5 separate regions of the Homo sapiens genome follow, and regions 1, 2, 3 and 4 are each linked to region 5. The links are contacts of gene promoters, found by promoter capture Hi-C in blood cells and fetal thymus (Javierre and others, 2016). All regions are on one chromosome and are shown on one strand. Each heading gives the region's core, a stretch centred on a gene start or on the middle of the fragment in contact. The rest is flanking DNA. Distances are from core to core; before and after follow the strand shown. Region 1 has its middle 24 kb from the start of MIR1279. Region 2 overlaps CPSF6 (cleavage and polyadenylation specific factor 6). Region 3 overlaps CPSF6 (cleavage and polyadenylation specific factor 6). Region 4 has its middle 61 kb from the start of CPSF6. Region 5 holds the start of LRRC10 (leucine rich repeat containing 10).

Region 1 (2,700 bases), core at 135-2,634, 310 kb before region 5:
ATTAAGTTAAAAAGGATGGATCAAAGACCTAACTCTAAGCCTTAAAACTATAAAACTCCTGGAGAAGATATGGGAGGAAGGCTTCAGGACATTGGATTTGGCGATGATATTTTGGATATGACACCAAAAACACTAGGCAAGAAAAGCAGTAATTGATAATGGGACTACATTACACTTAAGTGCTTTAGCACACTAAAGGAAACAGTGAAAAGAAAACCTATAGAATGGGAGAAAATAACTGCAAATTATGTACCTGATAAGGGGTTAATATCCAGAACATATAAGGAACTTCTACAACTCAACAACAAAAACTTAAGTTAAAAATGGGCAAAGGATCAAAATAGACATTTTTCCAGAGATATGTGAATGGCCAATAAATGCACAGGACAATGCCCAGCATCACCAATCATTAAAGAAATGGAAATCAAGACCACAATGAGATATTATCTCACACCTACCAGTATGGCCACTGTCAAAAAAACAGAAAATAACACATGTCGGAGAGGATATGGAGAAGTTGGAACACTTGTGTATTGGTGGTGGTCATGTAAAATGGCACAGCCACTGTGGAAAACCATATGGCGGTTCCTCAAAAAATTAAAAATAGAAAAACCATGTGATCTAGCAATCTCATTTCTGGGTATACATGCAGAATAATTGAAAGCAAGGTCTCTAAATGATACTTGCACACTTATGTTTATTGTGGCATTATTCATAATAGCCAAGAGGTGCAAGCAACCCAAATGTCCATCAACAGATGAATGGATAAGGAAAGTGTGGTATATTTATACAATGGAATACTATGCAGCCTTAAGGAATTCTGTCATATGCTACAACATGAATGATCCTCAAGGACATGATGTTGAGTGAAATAAACCATTCATAAAAGGACAAATACTATATGATTCCACTCATATGGTGTATTTAGAGTGGTCAGAAATTATAGAAACAGAGTGCAGAAAGGTAGTTTTTAAGGGCTGGAGGTTGGGGGAAGAGGAATTAGTGTTTGGGGGTATAAAGTTTCAGTTTTGCAAGATGAAAGCATCCTAGATATCTGTTGCACAATAATGTGAATATATTTAACACTACTGAAATGTAATCATTTTTAAGTAAAAAATGATTAAGATTGCTGTAGTTTGGTTATTTTATTTTATTTTATTTTATTTTATTTGAGATGGAGTCTCACTGTGTCACCAGGCTGGAGGGCAATGGCATGATCTCAGCTCACTGCAACTTCTGCCTCCCGGGTTCAAGTGATTCTTCTGCCTCAGCCTCCCAAGTAGCTGGGACTACAGGTGTGCACCACCATGCCCAGCTAATTTTTGTATTTTTAGTAGAGACAGGGTTTCACCATGTTGTCCAGGATGGTCTCGATCTCTTGACCTCATGATCCACCCACCTTGGCTTCCCAAAGTGCTGGGATTGCAGGCATGACCCACTGCACCTGGCCTATAGTTTGGTTATTTGTCTGTAACCAAATCTCATGTTGAAATGTTGGAGGTGGGGCCTGGTGGGAGGTGTTTGGATTATCAGGTGGATCCCCTATGAATGACTCGGGCCATCCCCCTGGTGATAAGTGAGCACTTGCTCTGAGTTTGCATGAGATCTGGCCATTTAAAAGTATGTGGCACCTCTCCCACCTCTCTCTCTCTCTCTTGCTCTTGCTTTCAACATGTGATGTGCAAGCTCCCACTTCACCTTCTACCACGAGTAAAAGCTCCCTGAGGCCTCCCCAGAAGATGAGCAATGTTGATGCCATGCTTGTATGGCCTGCACAACCATGGGCCAGTGAAACCTCTTTATAAATTACCCAGTCTTGGATATTTCTTTATAGCAATGCAAGAATGGCCTAATATAGAAAATTGGTGCTGAGGAGTGGAGCATTGCTATAAAGATGCCTGAAAATGTGGAACTGACTTTGGAGCTGGGTAACAGGCAGACGCTGGAAGAGTTTGGAGGGCAGAGAAGAAGATAGGAAGATAAGAGAATATTTGGAAATTTTGCAGCCTAGCTATGTGGCAAAGAGAGTAAAAGGTTTTTCGAGAGAGAAATTGAAGCAGGCTGTGGAGCAATATCTTGCTAGAGATATTTGCATAACTAAAAGGGAGCCAAGTGCTGATATCAAAGAGAGTGGGAAAAAGACCTCAAAGCCATTTCAGAGACCTTCATGGCAGCACCTCCATCACAGGCCCAGAGGCCTAGGAGGGAAGAATGGTTTCATGGGCCAGGTCCAGGGCCCCATTGCCCTGCACAGCCTTAGGACACTGTTCCCTACATTCTGGCCACTCTGGCTCAAGCCTTGGCTCAAAAGACCCCAGATACTGCTCATGCCACCATTCTGGAGAGTGAAAGCCACTGTAAGCCTTGGTGCCTTCCACATGGTGTTAAGCCTGTAGGGTGAAAGAGTGAATGAGGTGTGCCAGCCTTCATCTGTATTTCAGAGGATATATGAAAAAGCCTGGGTGCCCAGGCAGAAGCCTGCTACAGGGGCAGAGCCCTCAAAAAGAACCTCTGCTAGGGCAGTGCTGAGGGGAAATGTGTAGTTGGAGCCCACACACAGAGTCCTCACTGAGGCACTGCCTAGTGGAGGGGACCACTGTCCTCAAGAACCCAGAGTGGTAGATCCACTGGCAGCTTGCACCCTGTGCCTGGAAAAGCTGCATGCACTCAACAGCCTGTGAGATCAGCTGTGGGGCAGAA
Region 2 (2,700 bases), core at 121-2,620, 340 kb before region 5:
TTGAAAGTGTGTTCTTTTTGTCGCACTGTTACTGCGTAACACTTCTCAACATTCTGTAAGTTAAATTATTTTAAAATAACTATGGTGAATTCATGTTTATTTTTTTACTTTGAAAATTGTAGTACTCAGGTGGTATTTAATGGGAAAGGATCCTTTGGGTATAAATCATAATGTATTTTAAGGAATGCATCTATAACATTGATAACTTTAGCCTTAAAAAAAAGGTCTATTATTCCTTCCTCTGCATCCCATGGTATATTAGCAAAGTAGTTTACAGCCCTGTACAGCCTTACAAAGTTGTTTTACAATTTTTAATGGAAAGCCCTTAACAACAACAACAAAAAATTGTATCATTTTACCAATATCCACGAATTACTGATCACAGTTTGTAAATAATTTGTTTAATATCAGAAGGCCAAAGAAAGTCTTAAAATTTTAGCTATTGACTCTATGGTGACTTCACAATAAGATTTCTGTGCAAAAAGGTAAGGTGATAATTGATCTAATAGACTTTTTTTTTTTTTTTTTTGCTGTCCATGAGAATTAGACTTCATATTAGCTTCAATTAAAAAGCTCATTCCATTTTATTAAAATGTTTGTAATTGCAATTTTGTGTTTAATGTTTACTTTGTCTTTCCTTTCTTTAGCATTTAGGTGACTGTTCGGCAGTTTGATATATGGCCATTGTCGGCCTTAAACTGCACTAGTAACAAGCATGGTATTTATCTTGTATTGAAAATAAAACAAACTTTTGATAAGACTTTGCAGTTTGTCTTTTTTGTTTAATTTGTTATTTGGTAACCATTGTGTATGGTTTTAAGTAGTTAATGTTTATTGGCAATATGCAGTATAGCAGAAATTGGACTGTTGTCTGTATTCTATCTTTAAGCCAGATAGTGGTGGTTTTCTTGTGTATTGACATTTTGGTGCTCTTTAAAGCGACTGATAATTGGGCTAAAATTAGGATTAAGAGGCCTGACAGATTTCCAGGCTGTTACATGGTTTTTAAATGGAAGATTCAGAAAGCATTTGTCTAGTTTTAGAGGATCATTAACCTTACTAGACTTAAGTAAAAATGTTTGTAGCAAAAATATTTTACTGGTTAGCTTGGAAACATTATGGGGTACTTTTGAAACAGTAACAGACTTCAGTTTCAGTGATTTCAGTAGATATTTCTGTGCCAGGTATTAATATCAGGCCTCAGATTTCTTACCTGCAAGCTTCAGAGTATTAAAGGTAACAGTTCTAAACAAGTGAATATGAACATGAGAAATAATACTACCATCACTGGGATCCCTTTCCATGCCTCCACTAAAATTGTGGTTCAGATTTTTGTTAGATTTCCTGTTACTGTTTGTTGTATGTTTCCATTGATCAATCCCTATTTGTGTTGAATTAGTTGAGACTCTCGTCCCTACCCTGTGAGGTCATTTAACTTTAAGAGAAGATCATTAGGAATATTTTTTGGCCAGATGCCACACTACATATGACTCAGTTCAAGACCTAATTTAGTGAAAGAGAGAAGCTTTTTTTTTACAAAAGATTTATGGACAGACTTTTCCCAGTCTTCCTAGTTTTGTTTCAGAGCCATTACCATGAAACAATAATTATTAGAAATGATTTCCAATGATGTTGTTGGTCTTTTTCTCCCATTTATAGTTCATTAACAGTTCTTGGATTTTCGTGTGGTACATCAGTTCTGATAAACTATTGTCAGTTCCAGATAAATGATATATACTTTACCTTTCAAAAATCTATATTCATTTTATAGAAAAACTTTAAAAAATGAAATTTACTACTTTAATGTTATACTGAGATCTGTAGGAAAAAAATGGTGAATGGGAAAGGGAAGTACCTTTTAGGCAGAGACTTGCAAAAAGGGCTTTTGGCAAGAGGAGCATGCTAGTAGGAACTGAAAGAATGCCAGTTTGGCTGAAGCAGGGAGTGAAGAACATAGCCTATGTGTGGAGCTCAAGCAGTTGGCAAGGCTAGGCTCTCCGGAGCTTGTAGGTCACATTAAAGATTGTCCTAAGAGTCATGTGGAATCATTGAATTGTGTGAAGTGTCATAATCAACATTTCAAAAAGCTTCTTGGCTGCAGATTAAATTGATAAAAGAATAGATAAAAGAGAAACACCTCTTCCTGTCAGGAGAGAAGATAAGGGTAGATAAAAATAGAAGTTTGTGGGCTGTAGGTGTGTGGTAGAAATTTTAAGATGTCATATTTAGTGACTTATGTTTTCTTTGAAATAGAAATTGAGGGCATTGTGGTGTGGGCATGGCTTAGTTTAGAAGTAACAGTGTTTATCTGTGAGATTGTCAGGGTTTGCTATCTAAGATAAGGCTCCCATTTTTATGGTGGCAGTCCATCTAGTAACACATTCATCCCCTGGGAGAGGGTAGATGGATCAAGCTATGGGACGGAGAAGGCAGTAATTGTCTTCATCAGTTTTCACTTTAACGGTTGTCAACCCAGCTGAAGAACACAATCACCGATGCTGTCCTGTTGTTTTTTAGGGGATTGCTATTAACATTTTATTTTTTGAGACAGTCTCGCTCTCTCACCCAAGCTGGAGTGCAGTGGCGCATTCTTGGCTCACTGCAACCTGTGCCTTCCAGGTTCAAGTGATTCTTCAGCCTCAGCATCCCGAGTAGCTGAGACTATAGGTGTGAGCCATCACACCCGGCCAATTTTTTTTT
Region 3 (2,700 bases), core at 196-2,695, 360 kb before region 5:
TGTTAATTACACATGTATACACATGTATACAAACAACACATGATTGTTTACATTGGAAGGAGGTTCTTGGGCAAAGATTGATACTTTTCATTTTACGTACCCTATTACCTAACACACTAAAACCAGTAGAGTGGAAATGTGGACAGATTTATTTTCTATTTTTCCCAAGTTTTCTCTATCTGTGGTTGAAATGGTTGTTGAAATGACAGTTTAAGAACCATTACTCTCCCTGTGATTAAGAGATGGGAGAAGATGGGCAACTGAATAATGTGTTACATGGATATTTTGCTTTATTTCACTACTAAACTATACAAGTGGGATAGCCTCAGCATGAGAACATTATAAATACAGATATCTAAAAGTAAGAAAATAAAATACCACTGTCCTACCATTCATTGATGTTTACTTTTAACATTTTAGTGAAGATTCTTTTGGGCTTTTTCCTAAAAATAAATAAATAAATAAATAATGGAATTATAATTCATGTGTTTTATATGTTTGATATAAGGAATAAAAATAAATACACATCCTCTCTAATGTCTAATTCTTTTGCATCATACCTGGTATGCTACTGTAATTTACCTTTCTTATTTTTGGTTATCGTGGTGGTTTCCACTTTTGCCTATTGTAAATAATGTTGCAGCAGACATCATTTTATATAAGTCTTTTGGTACAGATTTTGGATTTTCTTTTAAGGATAAATTGTTAGATGCACAATGATAAAGAATTTTCTTATTTCTTATATTGCTTACTTATCTTAGAAGATTATACCAATTTATACTAAACTGAGAATATTTTCAAAATATATGCAGAGTCTGAATACTTCTCACTAACTTTACTTATACCACTTGGTCAAAGCCACTATCATCTCTCACTTAAACTTTGGCAGTAGCTTCCTAACTGGAAGTATAGACTGCCCCCTACAGTCTGTACTCCACATAACAGAAGTTCTAAAAAAAAAATGACATTCTGCTCAATCTTCTCATGGTTTCCTGTCTGTCTCATTCTTTACCATTGTCTACAAGGTACTTTCTGGTCTGTTTTCCCACCACCTTTCTAACCCTATCCTACCACTCTTTTTCAGCCACATTAGTCTCTTTGCTGTTGGCCAGACCAATTCCTACCTAGGACCTTTAGCTGTTTTCTCTTCTTGGTTTACTTTTCCCCCTCAAATATCCACATGGCTTACTCTTTGACTTCATTCAGGACTCAAACTGTTTAAGAGTTTTCTTCCATGACCATCTTGTGCAAAGTAGCACCTTCCTATCCTGTTTCCTTTATTTCTGCTCTGATATATTTTACTCGTTTGTTGTCTCCTCTTCCAAGCCTTTAAGCTTAATGAGAACAGAGATTTTGTTTTGTTCTCTATTACTTCTCCAGCTCTAGAATGGTACCTTGCGTATAAGAAGTGGTGCTTAATAAATATTTGTTAAATTAATTTAGTTTTTTCTAAATGTTGTGACCCAAGATAATCCTGGTGCAAACAGCAGAACTTGTTGACTAAAATAAGAAGGATAATTTAAAAGATCATATTGAACATTAGGGGGAAAAGAGCTTAAGCTTCTTAAGCTACTAAGACCCTCCCTCCCTCAAATAATTTAGAATATCCTGTAACTATACGAATTGGTAATCATTCTGATTATTTTAAATTTGTTTTTCTTTTTGAGGTATAATTCATATGCCATAAAATGCAGGCTTTTAAATGTACAATTCAATGATAATTTATTATATTTATGAAGTTTAGCAACCATTACCACTGTCTCATTCCAGAACATTTCATCACTCCAAGAAGGAACCTTGTACCTGGTTAGCAGTCACTCCCATTTCCTCTCTTCCTATCTGCTGGCAACTGCTAACGTGCTCTGGATATGCCTGTTCTGGACATTTCATCTAAATGGAATCATAAAATACGTAGTCCTATGTGACTGGCTTTTTTCCTTAGCATAATGATTTTAAGGTTCATCCATGTTGAAGCATGCATCAGCATTTCTTTTTATGGCTGAGTAATATTCCACTACATGGATATAGCACTTTTTTCTTTTAATCTATCAGTCGATGGACGTCTAGGTTATTTCCACTTTTGGCTATTAAGGAAAATGCCCCTGTGAATATTTGTGTACCCATTTTGTGTGAACATGTATTTTCAGTTCTGTTGGATGTGTACCTAGGAATGGAATTACTGGGTTAATATAGTAACTCTATGTTTAAATGTTTGAGGAATTACCAGATTATTTGCCAGAGGCATTGTGCCATTTTATTAATACGTGCTCATCAGCAATGTGCAATGGTTCCAGTTTCTCCACATATTTATTTATTTATTTATTTATTGAGACAGAGTCTCACTCTGTCACCCAGGCTGGAGTGCAGTGGCGCAATCTTGGCTCATTGCAACTTCTGCCTCCCAGGTTCAAGCGATTCTCCTGTCTCAGCCTCCCAGCGTGGGACTACAGGCACACGCCACCATGCCTGGCTAATTTTTGAATTTTTAGTAGAGACGGGGTTTCACCATGTTGGTCAGGCTGGTCTTGAACTCCTGACCTCATGATCCTCCTGCCTTGGCCTCCCAAAGTGCTGAGATTATAGGCGTGAGCCACTGCACCCGGCCTCTCCACATCTTTAATACTTGTCTTTTTGATTATAGCCACCCTAGTGGGTATGGGGTGGTATCTTGTGGTTTTGATTTGCACTTCCCCAATAGTT
Region 4 (2,700 bases), core at 197-2,696, 430 kb before region 5:
GATTATTTAATAATAAACCATAGGTTATTTAAACTATAACCTAACTCAGTGGTCCCCAGCCTTTTTGGCATCAGGGACTGGTTTTATGGAAGACAATTTTTCCATGGAGAGTGGAGGGGATAGTTTCGGGATAATTCAAGTGCATTATATTTATTGTGTGCTTTATTTCTTTTATTATTACATTGTAATACATAATGAAATAATTATACAACTCACCGTAATGTAGAATCAGTGGAATCCTTAGCTTGTTTTCCTACAAATAGATGGGCTCATTTGGGGTGATGGGAGTCAGTGACAGATCATGAGGCATTAGACTCTCTTAAGGAGTGTGCAGCCTAGATCCCAGGTATGTGAGGGATACTCAGAACACAAGGGGGTTCACACTTCTATGAGAATCTAATGCCACTGCTGATCTGACAAGAGGTGGAGCTCAGGCGGTAACGGCGAGTGGCGTAAATATAGATGAAGTTTTGCTCTCTCACCCATCTCTCACCTCCTGCTGTGCAGCCTGGTTCCTAACAGGCCAGAGACTGGTGTGTGGCCCAGGGGCTGGGGACCCCTGACCTAAATGTCTTCCAAAGTTAGCTCAGCCTAAGATCAGGAATAATTAAGGCAGCTTGAAAGCTAAAGGCAAGGGAGGGGTGGGTTAGATCAGATCTCTTTCTCTGTCACAATTTTCTCACTGACACAATTTTTACAAAGGTGGTTTCAACACTGACTTTCCTTTTTTTTTTTTTCTTTGAGACAGAGTTTTGCTCTTGTTGCCCAGGCTGGAGTGCAATAGTGCAATCTCGGCCCACTGCAACCTTCGCCTCCTGGGTTCAAGCAATTCTCTTGCCTCAGCCTCCCAAGTAGCTAAGATTACAGGCACACGCTGCCATGCCCAGCTAATTTTTGGTATTTTTGGTAGAGACGGGGTTTCACCATGTTGGCCAGGCTGGTCTCGAACTCCTGACCTCAGGTGATCCATCCATCTCGGCCTCCCAAAGTGCTAGTATTACAGGTGTGAGCCACCACGCCCAGCAACACTGAGTTGCAATCTCTGTATGTTGATTCTCTCCTTTCCAAGCACAGGCCCAAACTAGAATCCACTGAATGCCCAAGCTTGCTGATTAGAAAAACTTCCACTATCAGCAGGTGCAACCAGATCAGCCTCCCCAGCACCTGACCCACCCCAGTGCCAAATACTCAACCTCCCAATCCTCTCCTGGTTAGATCCTTTCTTAGTCCCACGGGTTTCCAAGATACAAGTGCAACTTTCCTGTAGCTATGATGGAGAGGCACTTTTATTAAAAGTCCTTAATTTCCAGCACTGAAAACTTCTGAAAAATAGTGGAATTACACATTCTCATCTTAATAGATTATCAGTTTTGCTGAATTATTTTTATCATGGCAAGACTACTATAATAGCTTTGTTAATGTAAATAAAGTCAGAGAGGAGCTAGTACTTTTGAAAAGCACTTGTACCAAATATTTATTGCTATTCTTTTCTGAAATCAGTAACTTTCCAAAAAGAGTGGAACCACCATGGCTTTCATTTTGGGTTTCGGAGTGTGTGAGAAGAAAAAGAGATCCTGGTAAAAGTCCTGAACTCATGAACATAAACGATAATAAAGAAACAAAAAGAGAATTTTAGAATGGTGGTTAATTATGACTTTTCACATGTAAAATTCTACGTGATAGAGTGCATAATGGAAACAGTTGTGCGTGTTTAGTATTGTATTGCTGAATGATAATTTGCATTGATGATGTCCTCACATTAACCAATTCAAGCAAACTTAATAATGAGAAGCTTGAAGAGGAAAATAAGACTCTGGCTCAGTGGAATAATGATTAATTCACAATTGCAATTAACACCTCAGAAGGTCTCAACCAAGAAGCTAGCTGGATGTGCAGCAGTGATGTAATCAGACTGTTTACGTCTGGCTTGAACTGAATCAATGATATTGGTGGCAGGGTACAGACTTTATCTCCATTTTTAAAGAAATAGAAGACTTAGGTTTTCTGAACTAAGGTTTATGCAATGATTTGTCTTTACAACATATTTTAAAAGAAATTTTTATATAGAAGTGTATAAGAATATATACTCCTTCAAACACACACACACACACACACACACACACGCACCATCTCTTTTCTGATTTCTTCTGGAAACTGACAAAAGAAACATGAAGATCATAAATTATAATGTTGACTTCTGACTCTCCCTCTTATCTTCTGCACAACTGAAGAAAAATTCACTTAAATAACTTCTAGTCTGAATTAAAATTTGGTTTTTGTGTTCAAAAGCCAAAAATGTGCAGATGTTACTGAAACCACTGGTGTGTGACCAAAAGATTTTTCCACATTAAGCACAAAGAAAGGACTGTCCTTTGGTTGGTGATTACAACAGCTATTTATAGAGCCTGCCTCTGTAGTTTTGCTCCTGGATATCAATAAGGAGACCAGCTCTCAGTCTGATTATCTTTCACACCCTCATTCACATTGCCTTTCACACATTGGATAATCATCTGTCCTCAGGACAGACCACAAAGTCTTTACCTGACTTATTCAGGCATTCATAGCAACCAAATCAGATCACTCCAAGGCAAGGTAATCAATTCCTTAGTAGCTGGCTGCCACAGTGGCAAACTCCACCAAAAGATCAAGTTTTGGTTGATTTGGGTGAATGGCACTGGCAGAAGCCTTCTTGTTCTGGGA
Region 5 (2,700 bases), core at 177-2,676:
CAACTTTTTTCTGTGAATCTGACTGATTGCCTAGGTAGAAATGTCCTTTTCGGTGGCCTCAGTGATACATTGATACTGTTTATGGTCATTTACAGTAAAGAAAATATGTCCTGCAAAGAGACAGACCACCAGAATATTTAGTTCTATGGCAAATACCTTATTTGAGGAGCTCATGAGCTTCATGACCAGTCACTTCTGGAGAGTGCAGGAGTTCAGAGTGTCCCAGCCCCTTTTGCTCTTCAGTGTTTCAAAATACATGTGTGGAGAAGCTGTTTTCTTGCAAAGAAGTTATGATCTCTGGATTGTCATGCCATCATTGGCACACAACTCCCCTCTGGAAGAGGAGCTGTTTGCCAGAAATATTTTCTCAGTGTGATTTATGGCATTCCACCTGGCTCTCTCCATCAGTCTCTACTAGCAGAGCCACTCCCAAATGACCCAGAGCCATCCTTTCCACTCCAATGGAGAGGCTTCCAGAACATGCTGCAGTTGGGTCCTTGGCATTGACTTGCAACTGAAGCTCCTCAGGAGTTGGTAGGAGGAAGTAGAGGGACTGGTGCCTGTAGCTCCTGGCTTTCCTCTCTGACCAACGCATAGCGCCTGGCTTTTCTAGGGTCGGGCTCTGGCGTCTCCTCTGCCCATCTCCCCACACGGCGCACACCTTTGGCCACCTTGGGTGCGTTCCTGCAAGGATTGTGGTCATAGATGACCAGCTTCAGACTTGACAGGTGCGCCAGGCTGGGGAAGTAACGGATGCTGTTCCAGTCCACATCAATCACCTCCAGGAAGGGCATGTGAAGCAGCACAGTGGGAAAGTCAGTTAGCCGGTTGCCCGAGAGCCAGATGGTCCTCAGCTCCTGGAGGCGCCGGAGCTGGCCTGGCAGCAAACGCAGGGCGTTGGAGCCGGCATGCAGAGTCTTAAGGAGACTCAGCTCACAGACCACATCCGGCAGCTGGGTGAGGCAGTTGGCCTCGATCCACAGGGTCCTGAGGTTCTGGAGCAGGCTCAGCTCACTGGGGAGGTCGCAGAGTTTGTTGTTGCCCAGGTAGAGGATGCAGAGCTGTTTCAAGGTGCACACCACCTGGGGCAGAGCCTTGAAGTTGTTGAAATCCAAGGCCAGAATCTGCAGGTTCTGTAGCTGCCCCAGCTCCGGAGGCAGGCTATTGAGGTGGTTGTCGCTCAGGTAGAGCTTGACCAGCTCCCTGAAGGAGCACACGTGCAGGGGGAAGCGGCGTAACTGGCTCCCACTCAGATCCACCATCTTGTCCAGCGGCATCTCACGGAGGTCCCTGACCACATAGTTCTGGCAACGGTCAGCAGGGATGAAGGCCACGAGGGCCCTGATGGTGTTCCCCATGCGGAGGCTGGGGGCATGGCGAGCCCCAGAGGACAGACTCACTGAGCGGGGCTGGCTCAGCTGACTGCTCTGGGGCCTATCCTACCCTCCCATTATAACTTGGGGATTGCATGACAAAAGCCAGTCACTTTGACAGAGAAAAGTGCTCCTGATAGCAACTTGAGTGTCCGGCGACAGCGCAACAGTCCGGCAGGGGCTGGGAGGCCATGTCTGACTCACATGCTTGCCTTTAATCACCTAAGCCCCAATCCCCTTTATCAACCTTTTTTCATTTCAAGCTGAAAATAGCTTTGCTGTTTTTTTCCCTAATGATAAAATATTAACACATTACATAAAGGTGTAAAAGAAGAAAATGAAAAACACCCATAGTTCTATTACCCAGAGATAAATACTGTACACATTTGCATGTGTCCTCTAGTCTTTTCGCTATAAGTAATCATTTGTTTTTTAAAATTGCACTTTAGGAGCTTTTTTTTTTTTTTTTTTTGACAGGGTCTCATTCTGTCACACAGGCGGGAGTGCAGTGGTGCAATCTTGGCTCACTACAGCTTCTACCTCCCTGGCTCCAGCAATCCTCACACCTCAGCCTCCTGAGTAGCTGGGACTACAGGTGCACACCACCGTGCCCAGCTAATTTTTGTATTTTTTGTAGAGATGAGGTTTCGCCATGTTGCCCAGGCTGGTCTTGAACTCCTGGGCTCAAGAGATCTGCCCGCCCTGGCCTCTCAAAATGCTGGGATTACAGGCGTGAGCCATGGTACTTGACCAGGAACCTTATTTTTTAATCATGACGTATCATGGACATATTTTCATGTTTGCAGATATCTATGCAATTATTTTAAACCCCTGCATAGTATTCCATTACATGGATGTGCAGTAATTTAAACAGTTTTCTGTGGTTAGGCATCTAGGTTGTTTACAAAGCATGACTATTATAAACATCCATGTGCATACAGATGTGAGCAGCAATCCACTCATTTCTTTAGAAACCGTCCTTAGAAGTGTTGCTGGAGCAGGCCAGGTGTGGTGGCTCACGCCTGTAATCCCAGCACTTTGGGAGGCCAAGGTGAGCCAATCACTTAAGCCCAGGAGTTTGAGGTCAGCTTAGGCTACATGGTAAAACCCCATCTCTACTAAAAAAAACAAAAATTAGCTGGGTGTGGTGGCACACACCTATAATCCCAAGTACTTGGGAGGCTGAGGCAGGAGAATGGCGTGAACCCAGGAGGCGGAGCTTGCAGTGAGCCGAGATTGCGCTACTGCACTCCAGCCTGGGCGACAGAGCAAGACTCCATCTCAAAAAAAAAAAAAAAAAAAGTGTTGCTGGATCATAGATATGCAT

The links. Contacts are between HindIII fragments. The CHiCAGO score rates a contact against its expected background, and 5 or more counts as called.
Region 1: a contact is called between a fragment that was not itself captured here and the fragment with the promoter of LRRC10 in region 5, in 7 of 17 cell types (naive CD4 T cells, naive CD8 T cells, non-activated CD4 T cells and 4 more). The highest score is 7.8, in naive CD4 T cells.
Region 2: a fragment that was not itself captured here is called in contact with the fragment with the promoter of LRRC10 in region 5 in 1 of 17 cell types (non-activated CD4 T cells); the score reaches 5.8 in non-activated CD4 T cells.
Region 3: a contact is called between a fragment that was not itself captured here and the fragment with the promoter of LRRC10 in region 5, in 1 of 17 cell types (total CD8 T cells). The highest score is 5.8, in total CD8 T cells.
Region 4: a fragment that was not itself captured here is called in contact with the fragment with the promoter of LRRC10 in region 5 in 1 of 17 cell types (total CD4 T cells); the score reaches 5.8 in total CD4 T cells.

The regions. Positions count from the first base shown.
Region 1 is chr12:69,296,120-69,298,819 of GRCh38, forward strand. No RefSeq gene overlaps it. Among named protein-coding and RNA genes, the nearest start is that of MIR1279, 24 kb to the left of the region's middle. The HindIII fragment of the contact is 2,838 bases long and covers 1-2,700 here.
Region 2 is chr12:69,273,599-69,276,298 of GRCh38, forward strand. It overlaps CPSF6 (cleavage and polyadenylation specific factor 6), which reads left to right. Exons shown (of 10, transcript NM_007007.3): 10 at 1-760. Among named protein-coding and RNA genes, the nearest start is that of MIR1279, 1.7 kb to the left of the region's middle. The HindIII fragment of the contact is 305 bases long and covers 1,219-1,523 here.
Region 3 is chr12:69,253,232-69,255,931 of GRCh38, forward strand. The region is part of intron 3 of CPSF6 (cleavage and polyadenylation specific factor 6); the gene reads left to right. Among named protein-coding and RNA genes, the nearest start is that of CPSF6, 15 kb to the left of the region's middle. RefSeq lists an enhancer at 820-869. The HindIII fragment of the contact is 226 bases long and covers 1,333-1,558 here.
Region 4 is chr12:69,177,489-69,180,188 of GRCh38, forward strand. No RefSeq gene overlaps it. Among named protein-coding and RNA genes, the nearest start is that of CPSF6, 61 kb to the right of the region's middle. RefSeq lists a silencer at 2,387-2,587. The HindIII fragment of the contact is 688 bases long and covers 1,103-1,790 here.
Region 5 is chr12:69,609,481-69,612,180 of GRCh38, forward strand. It overlaps LRRC10 (leucine rich repeat containing 10), which reads right to left and starts at 1,427. Exons shown (of 1, transcript NM_201550.4): 1 at 1-1,427. The coding sequence starts at 1,358. The coding sequence ends at 525. The HindIII fragment of the contact is 9,863 bases long and covers 1-2,700 here.